Linked DNA regions of Homo sapiens: all the other regions are linked to region 1. The links are contacts of gene promoters, found by promoter capture Hi-C in blood cells and fetal thymus (Javierre and others, 2016). All regions are on one chromosome and are shown on one strand. The core of a region is centred on a gene start or on the middle of the fragment in contact, and the rest is flanking DNA. Distances in the headings are between cores, read along the strand shown. Region 1 holds the start of NUDT7 (nudix hydrolase 7). Region 2 overlaps DYNLRB2-AS1 (DYNLRB2 antisense RNA 1). Region 3 holds the start of TERF2IP (TERF2 interacting protein).

What was found. The method cuts DNA at HindIII sites, captures the fragments that hold promoters and counts their contacts. A CHiCAGO score of 5 or more calls a contact.
Region 2: a contact is called between a fragment that was not itself captured here and the fragment with the promoter of NUDT7 in region 1, in 1 of 17 cell types (total CD4 T cells). The highest score is 7.9, in total CD4 T cells.
Region 3: the fragment with the promoter of TERF2IP here is called in contact with the fragment with the promoter of NUDT7 in region 1 in 1 of 17 cell types (M0 macrophages); the score reaches 5.5 in M0 macrophages.

What each region holds. Positions count from the first base shown.
Region 1 is chr16:77,719,557-77,723,763 of GRCh38, forward strand. It overlaps NUDT7 (nudix hydrolase 7), which reads left to right and starts at 2,958. Exons shown (of 4, transcript NM_001105663.3): 1 at 2,958-3,061. The coding sequence starts at 3,027. RefSeq lists an enhancer at 2,796-3,090 and a silencer at 2,804-2,933. The HindIII fragment of the contact is 15,416 bases long and covers 1-4,207 here.
Region 2 is chr16:80,524,590-80,528,796 of GRCh38, forward strand. DYNLRB2-AS1 (DYNLRB2 antisense RNA 1) reads right to left here. Exons shown (of 6, transcript NR_120307.1): 2 at 4,053-4,197. Among named protein-coding and RNA genes, the nearest start is that of DYNLRB2, 14 kb to the right of the region's middle. RefSeq lists silencers at 2,814-2,863, 2,894-2,983. The HindIII fragment of the contact is 4,771 bases long and covers 1-4,207 here.
Region 3 is chr16:75,645,521-75,649,727 of GRCh38, forward strand. TERF2IP (TERF2 interacting protein) reads left to right here and starts at 2,253. Exons shown (of 3, transcript NM_018975.4): 1 at 2,253-3,032. The coding sequence starts at 2,363. It overlaps KARS1 (lysyl-tRNA synthetase 1), which reads right to left and starts at 2,145. Exons shown (of 14, transcript NM_005548.3): 1 at 2,058-2,145. The coding sequence starts at 2,119. RefSeq lists enhancers at 1,998-2,177, 2,217-3,174, 3,108-3,377, 3,175-4,130 and a silencer at 2,678-2,797. The HindIII fragment of the contact is 3,802 bases long and covers 1-3,760 here.

The DNA.
Region 1 (4,207 bases), core at 1,708-4,207:
CACGGTGTGCAAACACTGTGTGTAAACAATGGATATTATGAAAATCACAGCGATATTTCATTAATGTCACAGTGTGTAAGCACTGTGTGCAAACACTGGATATTATGAATATCATAGCGATATTTTATTAATATCGCAGTGTGTAAGCACTGTGTGGAAACACTGGATATTATGAATATCACAGCGATATTTCGTTAATGTCACAGTGCGTAAGCACTGTGTGTAAATACTGGATATTATGAATATCACAGTGATATTTCATTAACGTAACAGCGTGTAAGCACTGTGTAAACACTGGATATTATGAGTGTCACAGTGATATTTCATTAATTTCACACGGGATATTATAAAAATCACAACGATATTTAACATCATAGTGTGTAAACACTTTGTGTAAACATCGGGTATTATAAATATCACAGCGATGTTTCATCGGTATCACAGTTTGTAAACCTTGGATATTATAAACATCACAGCGATATTTCATTTATATCACGATGTGTAAACACTGGATACTATAAATATCACAGCGATGTTTGCTTAATATCACGGTGTGTAAACACTGTATATTACAAATATCACAGCCATATTTTATTAATATCACGGTGTGTACACACTGGATATTATAAATATCATATTGATATTTCATTGAGGTCATGGTGTGTAAACACTGGATGTTGTAAATATCTGTGATATTTCATTGATGTTATGGTGCATCAACACTTGATATTACAAATATCACAGAGACATTTCATTGATATCACAGTGTGGAAACACTGGGTATTATAAATATCACAGCGATATTATATTAATATCACGGTGTGTAAACATTGTATATTACAAATATCAGCCATATTTTATTAATATCACAGTGTGTAAACACTGGATATTATAAATATCACATCGATATTTCATTGATGTCACGGTGTGTAAACACTGGATGTTGTAAATATCACAGCGATATTTCATTAATATTTCATTTCATTAATAATTTCACAAACTGCCCCACTGACCTAGGGCCAGCCACAATATTACTTTCATGGGCCCTAGCTACTTTGTTTTTGTGCACCCCTTCTTCCATAAAATAATTTTAAAGTGAATATTTTATGACTGAATTCATAAAATGACTATCATCCAAGCTGGATTCATTATTATATATTGCTTTTATTACATACCTTTTCTTCTTCTAATTTAAAAAGAAATTACAATTAAAACATTTTCACAGGTCCCTAAAATTACTGTGTGTGTCCTGTGCCTGTAAGGGAGAAGTCAGCCCTACACTGACCCCTGGATTCTCAGCTCGCACCAGGCTCCCTCACACACACTGTTCTCCAGCCCCTTTCTGCTGTCTTTGCACAAACTTTGCCCTCTTCCTTGAACACTCTCCCTTGCCTTTTTCCTCATTTATGTCCTCTATCCCGCACAGAGCATCAGAATCCCCTTACAGCACAGATCACTGGGCCTGACACCTGGCTTCTGATTCAGCAGTTGTGACATGGGCCCCAAAGTCCACCTTTTCTTTTCTTTTCTTTTCTTTTCGTCTTTTTTCTTTTCTTTTCTTTTCTCTTTTCTTTCTTTCCTTTCTTTCTTTCTTGGTTTTTGTTGTTGTTGTTGTTGTTGTTTTGTTTTGTTTTGTTTTTGAGACAGAGTTTCGCTTTTTTTTGCCCAGGCTGGAGTGCAATGGCGCGATCTCGGCCCACTGCAAACTCCGCCTCCCAGGTTCAAGCGATTCTCCTGCCTCAGCCTCCTAGTAGCTGAGATTACAGGCGCCTGCCACTGGCTAATTTTTGTTTTTTTAGTAGAGATGGGGTTTCACCATGTTGGCCAAGCTGGTCTCAAACTCCTGACCTTAGGTGATCCACCCGACTTGGCCTCCCAAAGTGCTGGGATTACAGGTGTGAGCCACAGCGCCTGGCCCAGAGTCCACATTTTTAACAGGACCAAAGTGATCCTGATTCTGCTGGTCTGAGGACCACACTTTGAGAACTACTGCTTTCAAGATGAGCTGCACTTCTATTTCCTCTACCAAGCCTCTTCTGTCTCCTAATTGGGTCACATTTCTCCTTCACACGCTCTAGAAGGACCAAAGGCCACTGCTTTATCAGTGTGATTTTTTTTTTTTTTTTTTTTTGCATTAAAAACTTCTTATCTTCTTCTTCTTATTTTTGAGACGGTCTACCTCTGTCAGGCTGGAGTGCAGTGGTGCTATCACGGCTCACTGCAGCTTCGACCTCCTGGGCTCAAGCGATCCTCCCACCTCAGCCTCTTGAGTAGCTGGGACCACAGGTGTGTGCCACCACGCCTGGCTAATTTTTTATTTTTATTTTGTAGAGATGGGGTTTCGCCATGTTGCCCAGGCTGGGCTCGAACTCCTGGATTCAAGTGATCCTCCCCTCTTGGCCTCCCAAAGTGTTGGAATTACAAGCATATGCCACTGCATCCAGCCCTGTGTGATTAATTTATGTTTCTACCATTTGACTGTGAGCTCCACGTGTCTTTTCGCTAGCTGTGGGATCTGCACCCAGTGCATACAGGTGGTCGGTGAACAGGTGCTGACAGCAGTTCCAAAAAGTTGAATGAATCACCTTAACCTTCCAGCAACAGCGAATGCGAGTGTAAAATATTATCACCTCACCAACACTGTATTTTTTTTTTTTTTAACTCTTCCAGCTCTAAATTCCACAACTCCTCCTATACCTCTTGCTTCCATAGAAGCCCAAGGAGCCCGGCAGAAACTGCTTTGAGCAACCAGGAACACCCGGCCCTAAGTCCCGCCCCGCGCCTCTCCCCACCTCAAGTCCCGCCTCTGGCTATAAGCCCCGCCCCGCCCCGATCCCGGCCTCCGATCCCAGATCTCGCACCGCCCCGCCCCCTGTCTCCGCCCCAGACACCACCCCGCCTCGTGCTCTAAGCCCCGCCCCTCTCTCTGGCTTTAGGCCGCTCCCAAGCCCAGAGCTGCTCTGCGCAAGCGCGACCGACCGAGCAGCTCCGAGGAGTCCGCCCGGAAACAAACATTCCCCAGGGCAATGTCACGACTTGGTCTTCCCGAGGAGCCAGTCAGGTAAAGGCTTTCCGGGCCCTGGCACCCCGAGCTTGGTCAGGCCCGGCCTTGATCGTAGCGGAGGCCACCGGGGCCTTTTGGCCGGGACTGATTTTGCAGCTCCCGCCAGTCCACCTGCGAGCGCCGGATGGGGGAGCACTCGCCTCCAGCAACCCGCAGGGTCCCCGAACCTTTGCACTGCTCTGGCCAGGAACAGAGCCGGCTTAAGCCAGTATGGTTTACATACACGCTGCTCCCCTTCCCAGCCGGCTTGGCTGTTCTGCAATCCGCGTCTCCAGAGTTGGACCCCAGGACCCCCGACAGTGGCACAGACCCGCAGCAGGCAGCCCCGGATTCAAGTCCCCCGGTGGCTACTTTCAGTTGTGACCTTGGGTCTGTCAGTTTCGTAAACTCTCTGAGCCTGGAGGTGACCCTGTGATCACTTGCCGGGCTGTTGTGAGGATAAAATGAGAAACGTCAAAATTGAGACCATGCTCAGAACGGGGTGGCTGCTACTGCTGTTGATACCTTGGTGATTATTCCAGCGGCCAGCCCCTAAAGTGGACAGATAACGTTTTTGCAGCCTTTTACTTTGGCTGGTTTGTCTGGTCAGTTCTGTGGTTTCCGGGTGGTTAAAAGCCACCAGCCCACAGTTTCCTTTTCTGGAGGCTGGCCTGCGTGCATCCAGATGCACTGTGCAATCCCTGTGCCAGCATTCACTGATTTTTTTCAGGCCATTTGGTCTTTGAAATACACTGCCGTTACCCAACCACATCTGGTGAGCACCCTGCCACCTAGAAAGAGGCAAAAAATAGCAAATACCTCCTGCAAACAACTGCTTATCTAATGATGGGGAGATTTATGACAGTGGTTACCATTCCCTGAGCACCAGCTGTGTGCCAGCCACAGTATATGAACTGCATCATTTAATCTTCTTAAATATCCTCAAGCCTGACACAAATGAAGATGAAACTCAGAGAAGTCATTTGTATACACTTTTTTTTTTTTTTTTTTGAGACAGAGTCTCACTCTGCCGCCCTGGCTACAGTGCAGTAGGCAATCTCGGCTCACTGCAGCCTCTGCCTCCTGGGTTCAAGCGATTCTCCTGCCTCAACCTTCTGAGTAGCTGGGATTACAGGCATGTGCCACGATGCCCGGCTAATTTTT
Region 2 (4,207 bases), core at 991-3,490, 2.8 Mb after region 1:
GTATGTCTTTACGACCTCTGGACACTTCCCTGAAGTTAAAATTCAATAACACTGTTTTGATTTCATTGTTTCTTTTCACAAATACCCTTCTTAGGGCAAGTGACTCTAGCTTCCCACTTACGTATTTTTTCTAAAATAAATGTACTTAATTTTAATTTTTTAATGAGCCATTTTTAATAAAAATTTTAAGTAATATAAGAGGTGCAGGGAGATAGCAAAAATTATAAACATGAAACATGAATGACTAAAGTTTAGGAAGCAGTGGCTTGAGAAACAAATTCTTCTCAGCCTGGAGTGTAGGGAAGCTGCACAATTGTGTGGGTGTGATTGTTGTTGATCTTTAATTTCCATCGCACCAAAGAAGCAGTGAATAAAAATGAGGGAGTTTTTTTATTTTTAGGAAGCTGCAATTTCATTCTCATTGCCAGTGATATTTAACGAGAATATCGTTACTTTCCTAGAGTTGATTCTTTGGGTGACTAAGACTCCTTAGAACCAAGAATGCAAGCACAAACTCTGAAAGCCTAATTAAAAGTATGATTCTTGCCCCGGTGCGTAACACTAACTCTTTTGTTAGCATCCCATGAGAAGAAACACCTCAGCTCAAATCACATTTTCCTACCTTCTCCCTTGCCAGTTCTGCCACTTTTTCATTAGCTAATCCCAATTAAAACACTTTGTTACTAACACCATAAATCTCTGCCACTCTCAATAAGCATAAATTATATGGCAAATAACTATATTATATGTCTATCCAGAAAAATAACACCTCCCACCTCCCTCCTGTTTTTTGCCATCTTGGGACTCAGAGCTTCTAAGTCAACACTCACGCTTTTTAATTTGGGTCCCCTGCCCCCTCTAATTACTTACCTATAAAGCTACACTTTTTTAAGGAAGAAAATTATCACCAATGCCCTTCTCTAAACTTAATCATTAACTGCGCTTTTTCTTCCTGTTTGTGAACAATTTGAGGTAGTAGGAAAGGCTTGGTCATTATATTTACAGCTAACTCTGCCATTTATCAATGGAATGACCTGGAACAGCCATCCTGGCTCACACCTAGGCCTGAATCATAAACTGAGGAGACCGACCTCACGGGATTTTGTTTCAAAATTAATTAAGGCACATGTAGACTGTGTTTAGCACAGTGCCTGGCACAAAATGTGGGCTCATGTTGTCTAAAGCGAAGTGGTGATTTTGTTTGCTTCTCCCATGGTCAGCAATTGCTTAACACAACATTTCATATATTAAACTAACAAAAAGAAACATACCTCATCCTGTGATTGATTTTCAAGCTCATTTATTCCTCATTTCTCTGTGGTTTAATTTAATTAAATTGAGCAGCCCATCAAATATTGATTTTAATAAAATCTTGATTAAGATTTGAGCAATTATCAAACGCTCTTTTTCATACCATTCTTGCATTTCAATAGAACCAACCTCAAAAACCAATTTGCTTTTAAAATAAAGAAGTGATTTTATAGATATTCTTCAGGCCATTTTCAGAAATAAAGAAAAAATGGCCTCCCGTTGTTGTTATTAGCCGAGATAAGCAGCAATGTCTGACCAGCGTTTTAAAAAACTTAATCCAGTAGTTATCTCATCCTCAATGAATAGTAGAAAGGGAAACTCAAAAAAGAATTAAGTCCTTTAATAAACATTAATTTGGCTCCTACTGTGTACGAAGTACTATTTTACCCAATGCAAGTAGAGGTAAGGAAAAGCTAATTATGTAGTTAGTTTTAATGTATGTGGAAAAATTCAGCCACACGTGAAAGTTTTTGACTTTATTAATTAATAACCAGAGACCTACATTTATTCCAACCCTTAAAATTACTCTGTTGTGCAATTTATGAATATAGGCTCATTATTAGGAGAATCTAATGTAAATGTGATGGTATAAATTATCAATAGTATTATATTAGCAATTAACCATAAGTGTAAGAGATTTAATAAGTTAAATATTTGGTTTGATAGTTAAGCGCTAAAAAGAAACGGTAAAGCCAATAGCTGTCACAGCAGCACCACCTAGAGGCCTGTGAGGAGTAACACAGGTCATTTCCCCAAACTTGCCTTCTTACTTAGAGACAAAGAGCAGTAGCTACTCCATTTCAGCACCTTCTGTCACCGAAAGCATTTTAATTCTATTCAGCATATTCTTAAATCTTGAAATATTTACAAAATAGCTAAATGAAATTGAATAACCTCAAAATCACAATGTAGTTTGGCAAAAGATGTCAATTTTCCCCCTGGCATAGGAGATGAAACTGGGCAACTACGGGAGCAGCCCAGGTCTTGGGACATTACAACGTGAGACACAGGCATCCTCTCTCTAACACACACCTCCTTATTCTGTCTTGATCCCAAACACATGAGTGCCCAGGCCGACTGCACATTTGATAGCACTTCAGAGTTATGTTCCTGAGCTACTGCCCAAAGTGTAGTTAGAGATGTTGAGAAGAAATTAACTTTCCATTGTTAACATTGTTTATATCAGAAGATCCACTTACTAGTTCCCTTCCACTAGCCAAAGCTGAACTAATGTTCTGGAGATGGAATTGAAAGAGAAATGACAAAACATTTTTCTTTTTTATTATTTCCCATCCTTTCTTCTGTTATCTTTTATAATTTTTCTCAACCTCTCAACCTGAAAACTTCCTTGGATTAAAATTTAGATAATAAAACAAATCAGCTCTTCATAGAAATGAAAACACTCCTTATATTATTTGGTTTCAGAATTTCAGCAGACTTTGCTGACCATCAGCTGACTGCAGCTTCACAGGGGAATGGCAAAAACAAAAACAAAAACAAAACATAACAAAACAAAACAGCACATTTACTGCATATACAAATTGGGGCTAATGAGGCACAAAGTACCGCTCATCTTCATTTCCACTTGAGGGCGCTGTCTGCCTCAGTGAGGCGGGGGTGCTGAGTCAGTATTTTGCCAGTCAGTGCAGCAAATGCAGAAGTCTGCCTTAACCTGTACTTTCTGGCCTCCATATATGAAGCTGGGGTTCCTACCTGAGCACACTAGTAAAGGAAAGGCGGCAGGTCCATTCATGCGCATGCTCTGAATTTCAGGTAAGGCACTTGAGCACAGTTTACCAAAATAATACTAGGTTTTGCCTAGAGAAGTTTTTTCCCCAATCTGTATGCTAAAGTCATAGCTGAAGTCACATCAAACTGCAGTAACTTTAGTTTTTTGAAACATCAGACTTTTCTTGCACCTGCTTTTCCCTCTGTTCCACCCCTACACCTACTGACCTAACTAGTGTCCGAGCCTCCTTTGGATCTCAGCTTAGATAGCACCAGTCCAGGATTCCTTCTAGGATCACCTCATGCTGGGTTAGGATGACCTTCTACGTGCACCATTTGCAACCTAAACTTCTCCCACTGGGAAACTTTGTGTGCAGTTTTGCAACTGTTTGTTCATTAACCATATCCCCCACAAGACTGTAGGCACCGTGCAAGCAAGGGATATTTTTATCTTATTTATGGTTGTATTCCCTTCACCCCCACGATTCTGCCTCAAATATTCCATCAATATTGTTGAAGGAGGCCGGGCGCGGTGGCTCACACCTGTAATCCCAGCACTTTGGGAGGCCGAGACAGGGGGATCACGAGGTCAGGAGATCAAGACCATCCTGCCTAACACGGTGAAACCCCATCTCTACTAAAAATACAAAAAATTAGCCTGGCATGGTGGGGGGCGCCCGTAGTCCCAGCTACTCGGGAGGCTGAGGCAGGAGAATGGCATGAATCCGGGAGGCGGAGGTTGCAGTGAGCCGAGATCATGCCACTGCACTCCGGACTGGGAAACAGAGCGAGACTCCATCTCAAAAAAAAAAAAAAAAAAAAAAAAAAAAAAATATATATATATATATATATATATATATATATATATATATATATTTATATAGTAGAAGGAATGACTGTCCCATATAAGTCTGCTTTATCTTGGGAGGGACTCTAATGTTCTATTCATAGTCTCCATTTATTTGCCTTCCAAGCATGTGCCTCAGCATCCACCATTTTGCTTCCACTCTTACCTTGTTCTTTTAAGATCCAAAGCGGTCAGAAGAAGTGATCAAGATTCAACAAGCTAAGCTGTCTCCTGATGGTCAAGGCATTCTCTTCACCATGTCCAGGCTCCTTACAGGATCCACAGACAACTCATTCCAATTTCTGAGTCAGCTGCAAGAGA
Region 3 (4,207 bases), core at 1,003-3,502, 2.1 Mb before region 1:
GTCAAAAAAGTAGTAGCTGTATTTAATTTTAGAAAAGTCAGTGAAGCAGGGAGTGGTGGCTCACGCCTATAATCCTAGCGCTTTGTGGGGTTGAGGCGGACGGATCACCTGAGCTCAGCAGTTTGACGCCAGCCTGGGCAACAAGGTCAAATCCCGTCTCTACTAAAACACAAAAATTTAACCGGGTGTTGTGGCATGCACCTGTAGTCCCAGGTACTTGGGAGGCTGAAGCACCAGAATTGCTTGAACCCGGGAGTTGCAAGTTGCCGTGGGCTGAAATCGCACCGCTGCAATCCAGCCGGGGCAACAACGACTCTGCCTCCAAAAAAAAAAAAAAAAAAAAAAAGTCAGTAAAGAGGAATTAACCAGTTTTTTCCGTTTACCTAAAAACACACTCTGAACTGGAAACCGTGCTTTCACCTGTGATATACAGTCCTAAAGTTCAATTCAATGTAATTGATTATCATAGGTGGTTTGAAAGAATGAACTAAACTTTAGGATCGTATATCACAGATATACCACATTCAATTAAATTTGACTTAATAAAGTCAAGTCAATTTTCTCTAAGGTAGCAGTCCAAAGACCAGGTTCCAAACTTTTATGGAAGTCCATCGGATTGCTCTAATAAAGGACAATATATTAAGGTCCTACCCAACTATAAACTTCGACAATTTCTCTTATACTTTTTCTAAGATATTTGAAGCACAAAGCCAGGGACACAAAAGGAAACATCAGGCCAGGGGTGGTGGCTCAGGCTCACGCCTGTCATCCCAGCACTTTGGGAGGCCAAGGTGGGCGGATCACAAGGTAACGAGATTGAGACCATCCTGCCCAACATGGTGAAACCCTGTCTCTACTAAAAATACAAAAATTGGCCAGCCATGGTGGCACACGCCTGTAATCCCAGCTACTCGGGAGGCTGAGGCAGGAGAATCGCTTGAACCCTGGCAGCGAAGGTTGCAGTGAGCTGAGATCGCGCCACTGCACTCCAGCCTGGCGACAGAGCGAGACTCCATCTTAAAAAAAAAAAAAAAGAAACATCATTTCTCTTTTCTTTTTCATTCAGGGTCTGGCTCCGTCTCAGTAACTCCTTGGGGAAAGCGATGGAGAAGGGCTCGCTCACGCAGCACTTCTGGCAGTCCCTGAAGGACCACTACCTCAAGTCTCCCAGGCTGGAGTGCAGTGGCACGACTTCAGCACACTGCAACCTCCGCCTCCTGGGTTAAAGCGATTCTCCTGCCTCAGTCTCCCGAGTAGCTGGGATAACAAGTGCGCGCCACGGGGATTAAGCCCTCTCGTATGCCTCTGGAATGGTACTATGTACCATCTTCCTAGCAATGATAAAACACTCAATTACCTGTGTTCTGTGGTTCAAATGGGGAACGCTAATGAGAATATAAGACAGCCAGTTAAAGGGTGGCTAATCCTGACTTATCTATGTTAACCTACATACTCCAGGGATTTGGGAGTGGTTAACAAAGATATCAGGCTGAATTAAGATGGTCTCTACTGTTAGACGTTGATCACTTAATACTCACAGGTATCTACTGAATAACCCATACGGGTAGATGCATGACAGTTTTAGAACTGATCCCTTTTAATACATAACGTTCAGAATGACCTTAGTGAGGCCCAGAAAATTTTGAAGGTCTTTCTGAAAAGCTAGGGTATTTAACATTTCTCCAACTTCCACGTTTACTGAGTGGCTCAACAAAAGAATGCATTTCTCAGAAAGGAGGATGAAGCTAAGCAGGAAGTTTCGCTTTTCTTTTCTGATAACTCTTAGTTCTCGTCCTAGTTCCTCCTCCACAGTCTCTTAACTCTAGGAGTATGATAGGGAGCATCCCGCCGGTGCCAGCTGGGAACGGGGAGCCGGCGTGCCCGGGGTATCCCGGGGTACGTGGTCTGCAGGGCGCAGCCACCACGTCTCAGCATGTGCGTACCCACGAGAGCCGGCAAGAAGGCCCCGGCACAGCAGCCTTGGTGGGAACCTCGCGGCGCTTCCCAGCCCAGACTCTCCTACCGCAAAGGCTTTAAAGACTCGCAGCGACACTCACTTCTTGCTCAGTTTCGGCTCGCTGCCATCCACTTTCACCTCGGCCGCCTGCACGGCCGCCATCTTCCCGGAGGGCCCGACCCAAAAGTAAGGAGGATAGTACGTTAATTTCCAGGTCAAGGTGCGAAGCCCCACCTCTTCCGGGGGAGAGGGGGCGGGCACTCTCGATGCGCCGCGGCTGCTGCTGCGCAGGCCCAGTGCTGCGCTTCGCGGCAGAGGCGTCTGCGGTGACAGCTCAGTCAGTTGAGCTCTGTGTGCCAGGCGCTCGCGAGGGGGTAGCTCTTCTAGTAGTGCTCGGCGTCAGACATGGCGGAGGCGATGGATTTGGGCAAAGACCCCAACGGGCCCACCCATTCCTCGACTCTGTTCGTGAGGGACGACGGCAGCTCCATGTCCTTCTACGTGCGGCCCAGCCCGGCCAAGCGTCGGCTGTCGACGCTCATCCTGCACGGCGGCGGCACCGTGTGCCGAGTGCAGGAGCCCGGGGCCGTGCTGCTGGCCCAGCCCGGGGAGGCGCTGGCCGAGGCCTCGGGTGATTTCATCTCCACGCAGTACATCCTGGACTGCGTGGAGCGCAACGAGAGGCTGGAGCTGGAGGCCTATCGGCTGGGCCCCGCCTCGGCGGCGGACACCGGCTCGGAAGCAAAGCCCGGGGCCCTGGCCGAGGGCGCCGCGGAGCCGGAGCCGCAGCGGCACGCCGGGCGGATCGCCTTCACGGATGCGGACGACGTAGCCATCCTTACCTACGTGAAGGAAAATGCCCGCTCGCCCAGCTCCGTCACCGGTAACGCCTTGTGGAAAGCGATGGAGAAGAGCTCGCTCACGCAGCACTCGTGGCAGTCCCTGAAGGACCGCTACCTCAAGCACCTGCGGGGCCAGGAGCATAAGTACCTGCTGGGGGACGCGCCGGTGAGCCCCTCCTCCCAGAAGCTCAAGCGGAAGGCGGAGGAGGACCCGGAGGCCGCGGATAGCGGGGGTGAGGAGGCTGAGCGCGGGGCCTCGCGGATATCTGCGCGGGTGGGGTTGGGATCTTTCTCCTGGCTGCCTGGCGTCCATCTTGGCATCTTCGGTAGCAGCGCTTGGCCCCGCCCCCTGTTGACATCCGGGTAAATTTGCACCATTTTCTTGCCTTCTCGCTCCCTTGTTGTTTATTATTGTTCTTTTTTTGCGATGGGTCTCTGTTACCTAAGCTGGTCTGAACTCCTGAGCTCAAGCGATCCTCCTGCCTCGGCCACCCAAAGTGTTGGGATTACAGGAGTGAGCCACCACGTCTGGCCTCTCGTCGTTTTTATTTTTTAATTTTTGAGTGGGGGCTCGCTCCGTCGCCCAGGCTGTGATGCAGCCGCGCGATCACGACCTACTGCATCCTGGACCTCCTGGGCTCAAGCGAATCTCCGGCTTCAGCCTCCCAAGTAGCTGGAACTACACTCCCGCGCCACCACGTCCCGCTAAATTAAAAAAAAAATTGTTGTAGAGATGGGGGTCTCGTTGTGTTGCCCTGACAGGTCTCGAACTCTTGGGCTCAAGCGATCCTCCCGTCTCGGTGTCCCAAAGTGTTGGGATTACAGGCGTGAGCCATCACACCCAGCTTCTTGGTCTAGTTTTAATTTACTTTACCATTGACTAGAATATTGACATGGTTCTATATTCAAAAGTTACAAAAAGTATATAGAAAATTCTCTCTTGGCCGGGCGCGGCGGCTCAAGCTTGTAATCCCAGCACTTTGGGAGGCCGAGGCGGGCGGATCACCTGAGGTAAGGAGATCGAGACGAGCCTGACCAACATGGCGAAATGCCGCCCCTACTAAAAATACAAAAATTAGCCGGCCGTGGCGGAGAGTTCCTGTAGTCCCAGCTACTCAGGAGGCTGAGGCAGGAGAATTGCTTGAACCCGGGGGGCGGAGGTTGCAGTGAGCCGAGACTGCGCCACTGCTCTCCAGCGTGGGTGACAGAGCAAGACTCCATCTCAAAAAAAAAAAAAAATTATCTCGTCCTTCCTGTCCACCAGCTACCCACGGGCTAACTGGCTTCTTGTGTTTCTTTTAAGAGATATTCCACAGACTCCTTTTTAAAAAAGATTGCTGTTATGTTCAGGTAGATTCAGTATAAAGGCGTACCAGACTTACTTTAATGCTCTGGCGTAACTGAATGC